2 separate regions of the Homo sapiens genome follow, and region 2 is linked to region 1. The links are contacts of gene promoters, found by promoter capture Hi-C in blood cells and fetal thymus (Javierre and others, 2016). All regions are on one chromosome and are shown on one strand. Each heading gives the region's core, a stretch centred on a gene start or on the middle of the fragment in contact. The rest is flanking DNA. Distances are from core to core; before and after follow the strand shown.

What was found. The method cuts DNA at HindIII sites, captures the fragments that hold promoters and counts their contacts. A CHiCAGO score of 5 or more calls a contact.
Region 2: a contact is called between the fragment with the promoter of SCT here and the fragment with the promoter of CEND1 in region 1, in 2 of 17 cell types (monocytes and neutrophils). The highest score is 5.8, in monocytes.

The regions. Positions count from the first base shown.
Region 1 is chr11:788,611-791,493 of GRCh38, reverse strand. It overlaps CEND1 (cell cycle exit and neuronal differentiation 1), which reads left to right and starts at 1,404. Exons shown (of 2, transcript NM_016564.4): 1 at 1,404-1,464; 2 at 2,836-2,883. It overlaps SLC25A22 (solute carrier family 25 member 22), which reads left to right. Exons shown (of 10, transcript NM_001191061.2): 10 at 1-1,019. RefSeq lists a silencer at 1,264-1,493. The HindIII fragment of the contact is 25,064 bases long and covers 1-2,883 here.
Region 2 is chr11:625,931-628,813 of GRCh38, reverse strand. SCT (secretin) reads left to right here and starts at 1,633. Exons shown (of 4, transcript NM_021920.4): 1 at 1,633-1,741; 2 at 1,825-1,926; 3 at 2,025-2,117; 4 at 2,284-2,505. The coding sequence starts at 1,671. The coding sequence ends at 2,383. RefSeq lists a silencer at 1,711-2,005 and an enhancer at 1,599-2,099. The HindIII fragment of the contact is 5,281 bases long and covers 1-2,883 here.

The sequences.
Region 1 (2,883 bases), core at 155-2,654:
CTGCTGGACCCAAGCGGCTCTCCAGCCCTTCCGTCCTTCCCCAGCCGCTCTTGTCGCCTTGGCAGGACTTGACTCTGCCTCCCTGGCCAGCCTTGCAAGAGGACTGGGGTCTCCTGCCCTCTCTGTTGAGCCAGGAATCCCAAGTGAGGGGTTGCCCTGAGGTCTGACTCTTGGGGCAAGCCCGCCACCCACTGTGGGACTTTCTGGTGGGCTCCTCAGCTCCCACCCCAGGCTGGGGCCCAGATTGTGAGGTCTGTGTGCATGTGTGTGTGTATGTGTGTGTGCATGCGTGTGTGTGTTGTGGGGATCTGGCCTGGCCCTTGGGGATGGGGCTGCTGGGGACTGCCCCCCTTCCCGCCGTGGCCAGGCGCTCTGTGTGCTGTGTGTGCCCCAGGCTCTGTTGACCCCGTCCAGGAACTAACTTACCCAGCTTGGTCTCTCCTGAGTCCTCCACCCTGGCCTGGGATTGGCCAGGGAGCAGGGCGGGCATTGGGACCAGTGTGGAGCCTGAGGGTGCCTGCCCTGCTCTGGAGGGAGGGCCAGGAGCTGCCACACCCCCAAGTCCTCTCAGGGCCCACCCTCCTTTTTCAGCCTCTGCATAAGGCCCCTGGGTACACTGCAGAAGCCCCATCCTTCCCGCCTCCGGGCATAAGGCCCCTGACCACACTTCAGAAGCCCCATCCCCCCTGCCACCGGGCGATCCCTGCTGTGAGCCGAAGCTCTCCCTGCCCCGCCCTGGCCATGTGATCGTGTTGGTGACAGACCCTGATGTGCTGGTGCTGTGTCCCCAAAACCGGGGCCCTCCACAGAGGCCCCTTCCCAGCGACACTACCTGGGGCTCAGGCCTGGACCCCCCCAGTTCACGGTTGCTCCTGGGAGCTGCCCCTCCCGTCACATCAGAACCTTGGAAGCTGCTGCTGCTGCTTACAGAATTATATTTTTTTCTTTTGAAGAGTTTTAAGAAGTTGTAACTTTTTGTGTCTTGTCATGTCAGAGAATAAATAAATATTCTAAGTAGATGCTGCTGTCTGTCTGGGGGTCTGTTTGGGGGCGGGGGAGGGCAGTCCCCTCTTCCCATAACTGGCTCCCTTCAGACTGCAGGGCTAGGCCTGCGCACCCACCCACCGACCCCTCACCCACCGACCCGTCACCCACCGACCAAGGGGCACCCTGGCCTAGAGGGGATGCTGAGCGGGACCCGCCTCCTGCCTCTGGCAGTCCCAGATGGGACTTGGACCCCGCAGTTGCTCTCTCGGACCCTAAGTTTCTACCCCTGGATCTAAGGCGGAGCTGGGTTTGCGGATCCCACGGTTCCCGGCGGGGCGGGGCCCGGTCGCCCCTCCCCCTCCCCGCCCTCCTGCGCCGGGAGCAGTGCATTGTGGGAAACTCCCGAGCTCTCCTCCGCGTTCGCAGCCGCCGTCATCCCGCGGAGGAGCGCGCAGCCCCGGGGAGGCCGGAGGACGCGTAAGGCGGGGGGCTCCCGGCGGGCGGGGCGGGCGGGGCGGGCGCGGCGTCCTGCGGGGCGAGGAGGCGGCTCCGGGCCTTGAAGGTCACTGGGTTTGCGCGCGGGCCCCCCAGTTCTCCAGGGCTCAGTTGATCCCGGGAGAGGGAGGCGGCGGCCGGGATGTAAGTGCCACAAATAGCGAGGTTGGGGGGGCAGACCACCTGCTCTTTGCAAACTTGATGCCCAGCAGCTGAGCCCCCCGAGAACTGCAGGGGTGAAGGGACGGCTGGGCTTCCCTGGGAGGTGGCAGCAGCTGGGCCTCTTCTGGAGACGCCCTCATCATGCTGTGACCTTCGGGTGACCTTCAGTGTGGTCAATGCACCTGGCGGGGGGTGGGGAACGTGCCTCCCTTTCTCTGCAGGTCTGGAGGGCATTTCTCATCCTTCCCTGGGAGAGGCAGACAGGCGGCCTCTGGGGCTTTGGGGCAAGACCCACTCAGGTTCAGGGCGGCTGGGCCCCCAGGGCCCTTCCCACCTCTGCCTCGGTCATTGAGAATCTGGGCACCGCCTTTCCCACAGCCCAGAACCCTGTCCTCCGCCCTGACCCGCGGGCCAAGTGCAGCATGTGCCCACCCTGTTTAACGCCAGGAACCCTCTGCCCACAGAGACAGCACAGCCTTGGGCTGGGCGAGGACTCCCTGCTCCAGGGCTGGAGGCAGGCACGGCCCATGCTGAGGAGGGGGCCCCAGAGGCTGGGGAGGGGCAGACGGCCCTTGGAAGCACAGCCCCACGCTGACTTCCTGGAGAGACACCCCAGTTTTCTCAAGTCTGGGTTCTTGTGGGCCCACCCACCCTGATGGCTGCCTGAGATCCCAGCTCCTGCCCCTCCCCGCCCTCCTCCCCCTGGGACCCTGGCCAGGTCACAGCCTCCGTGCTTTAGTGTCCATCTCTGCAAAGCAGGAATGCTCTCCTGAGGAGGGGATGCAGTCAGCTCTCCCACTGGGGCTCCGATCACCTCCTTGGAGGGGAGAATGCTCTTCCTTCGAGTTCTCTGGGCCTGATCCTTACTTCCCCACCAAGAGCCTCCTGCCCCCGGCTGGTGGGAGGATGTGGCATTTGCATGGGCCATTTTATGGAGCACAGTGGGGTCCCCTACCTCCTCCCACCTGTGCGTGGCCCTTGCCTCTGCGGCTGGAGGGGCCCCTTGAGGAGTGGTCATGGACAGATGGAGTCCAGGCCGTGAAAGAGAAGTGTCAGAGGCCCACGGGAGGCCCCTGAGCTGGGGCTCCAGAGAGTCCAGAGAACTGGGCAGGGGCTGCCTGGGGACCAGGTGGTCGGGGCAGCACAGGGGGGACTGGACCCGCGCGCAGCCTCCCTTGTGTCTCCCTCCAGGCCCATAGAATGCCCAGGGGCGACAAACTGTCCTGAGCCCCTCTGGTG
Region 2 (2,883 bases), core at 384-2,883, 160 kb after region 1:
TTGTGGCTGATTTAACAGACGGATACAGTGCATGACTCGCAACCACAGCAGAACATCAAAGGGCTTGACGGCCATTTCTCCGTCCACTCCATGATGTATAAATGGCTCACAGACACTTGAGAACATGCTCCACATCGCTGGCCATTAGGGAGATGCCAATCAAAACCGCAGCGAGACACCACGTCGCACCCACCGGCATCGTTAGTACGCGACAAACAAAAAGCCACAAAGTAGCAAGTGTTGGCGAGGACAAGAACCGTGTCCCTGCTGCGCTGCTGGGAAGACAGTTTGGCGTTTCCTCAGAATATTTAACACATAATTACTCTGTCACCCAGCAATTCCCTCATAACTATACACCAAGAACGCTTGAAAACGGGATCGGGAAGCGCCGTTTGCACACCCACGTTCACAGCAGCGTTACTCGCCGTCGCCCCAAAGGGGAGGCAGCCCAGGTGTCCATCAAGATGCCCACAGATGAGCGGACGCGGTCGATGCGGTCCCTGCACACAGCGGGACACAGTTCCCCACAAAAGGGAAGGAGATTCCCACACAGGCCAGGCCGCGGCGGCGAAGGCGGAGGATGCTGCGCTGAGAATCCAGCCGGTCTCCAAAGGACAAATCCCGTGAGGCTCCCCCTGCGCGCAGTCCCTGGAAGCGCTGAATCCACAGACAGAAAGTGGACGGGGCGCCGGGGCTGAGGAGGGGAGGGGGCGTTTGATGGGGACAGAGCTTCATTCTGGGAGGACAGGAGAGTCTGAGAACGGATTTTGGGAGGACGGGAGCGTCTGTGAACGGATTTTGGGAGGACGGGAGCGTCTGTGAACGGATTTTGGGAGGACGGGAGCGTCTGTGAACAGATTTTGAGAGGACGGGAGAGTCTGAGAACGGATTTTGGGAGGACGGAAGAGTCTGAGAATGGATTTTTGGAGGACGGAAGAGTCTGAGAACGGATTTTGGGAGGACGGGAGCGTCTGTGAACGATTTTGGGAGGACGGGAGCGTCTGTGAACGATTTTGGGAGGACGGGAGCGTCTGTGAACGATTTTGGGAGGACGGGAGCGTCTGTGAACGGATTTTGGGAGGACGGGAGCGTCTGTGAACGGATTTTGGGAGGACGGGAGCGTCTGTGAACGGATTTTGGGAGGACGGGAAAGTCTGAGAACGGATGGTGGGGATGGATGCACCGAATGATCCTGAATCGCGCACTTCAAAGCAGATAAAATGGCAACACCGGCCCCCCAACAGTCACGCCACGCTGAAGCTGGAGACGAACTCGCCCCAGCAAGGTGCTCCAGGGGCCTCCGGAACTCCGGCCGCAGCCCCTTCCCCGGGGCCCCCCAGTCCCCCCCCAAACCCTCCCCCAAGCCCTCCGGCCCCTCCGCCCCCGCAGGCTCCGAGGCTTCGCGGTGCGGTTCCCTCTGCGGGTCCCAGGCCCGCGCTCCGTTCGCCCCCCAGGCCGGGACGTCCCCCTCCCCCAGCCGGCCGAGGGGCGCCAGCGCGGCGGAGGGGGCGGGAGGCCGGGCCGGGGCGACAGCTGGGGGGGCGGCCCTGACCTTCCCGGGATCGCTGGGCGCGGCCGGGCCGTCCCCTTTCCGGGCGCCGCCATAAAGGGGCCTTGCGGGGGCCCGGGGCCGTGGCCGCAGCGCTCAGCTCCTGCGCCCCGACCCCGCCATGGCCCCCCGGCCCCTCCTGCTGCTGCTGCTGCTCCTCGGGGGCTCCGCCGCGCGCCCCGCGCCCCCCAGGTGAGCCGCCCGCCAGGCCCGCCCGCCCCCCGGGCCCCACCCGCCCCCAGTGCGCCCTGACCCCGACCCCCGACCGCCCGCAGGGCCCGGCGACACTCAGACGGGACGTTCACCAGCGAGCTCAGCCGCCTGCGGGAGGGCGCGCGGCTCCAGCGGCTGCTACAGGGCCTGGTGGGGAAGCGCAGGTGAGGCCGGGTGGGGTGGGGGGTCCTGGCGTGGTGCCCCAGCAGCAACGCGCGACCCCCCAGCTCCAGGACTAACTCTGTTTTGGGGCGGGGGGCAGCGAGCAGGACGCAGAGAACAGCATGGCCTGGACCAGGCTCAGCGCGGGTCTGCTCTGCCCGTCAGGGTCCAACATGCCCATCCTGCAGGCCTGGTGAGCACCCGCCCCACCGCAGACCCCACTCCAGACCCCACCCCAGACCCCTCCTTCTGTCCTGGCCTCCCCGGGTCAGCGCTGGTGGCCACTGGAGGCCCAATTCCAGCAGCGGGGCCGGGGTCTCCAGCCCCAGCCCTCAGACCCTCACGTGCTGTCTCTGCAGGATGCCCCTGGACGGGACCTGGTCTCCCTGGCTGCCCCCTGGGCCTATGGTTTCAGAACCAGCTGGCGCTGCTGCAGAAGGAACCTTGCGGCCCAGATGAGGAAGGAACCCCCTCACCACCTGCCCGGCCCAGGAGCGCAGCTGCATTTGGGGTGGGGGGCAGGATGGGGGAGAGGGGGAGGGGTGGTACTTGGCACCAATAAAGGAGGAATCAGACCCAGACGCTGGGAGTTGTCTGTGTCCACTCAGTGTAATCGAGGCAACCCCTGTGTAGCGGGGCTGAGGGATGGATGGAGGCCCATCCACCCAGGAGGGACTGACCACACCCAGCTGCCCTTTACACCTGCAGGCACGGCGGCCCCTCATCCTTATCTCTGGCATCAGGGCCACCTCCTGTACCTCGACTAAGTACTGCAGGGCCCCGCCCCACCCCTTGTCATCCATTAGGAAACATTCTGGGGCTCGGGGGATCCCGGACACCCTCTCAGCTCCTGCCCGGGGGCCCATGTGGTCAGTGTTTCTGTAAGGGGTAGTGGGGAGGGTGTGAAGGGGCCAGGGGGGCTCAGGCGGGCAGGAAGAGGGGAGGGTGGAGGTGTCACC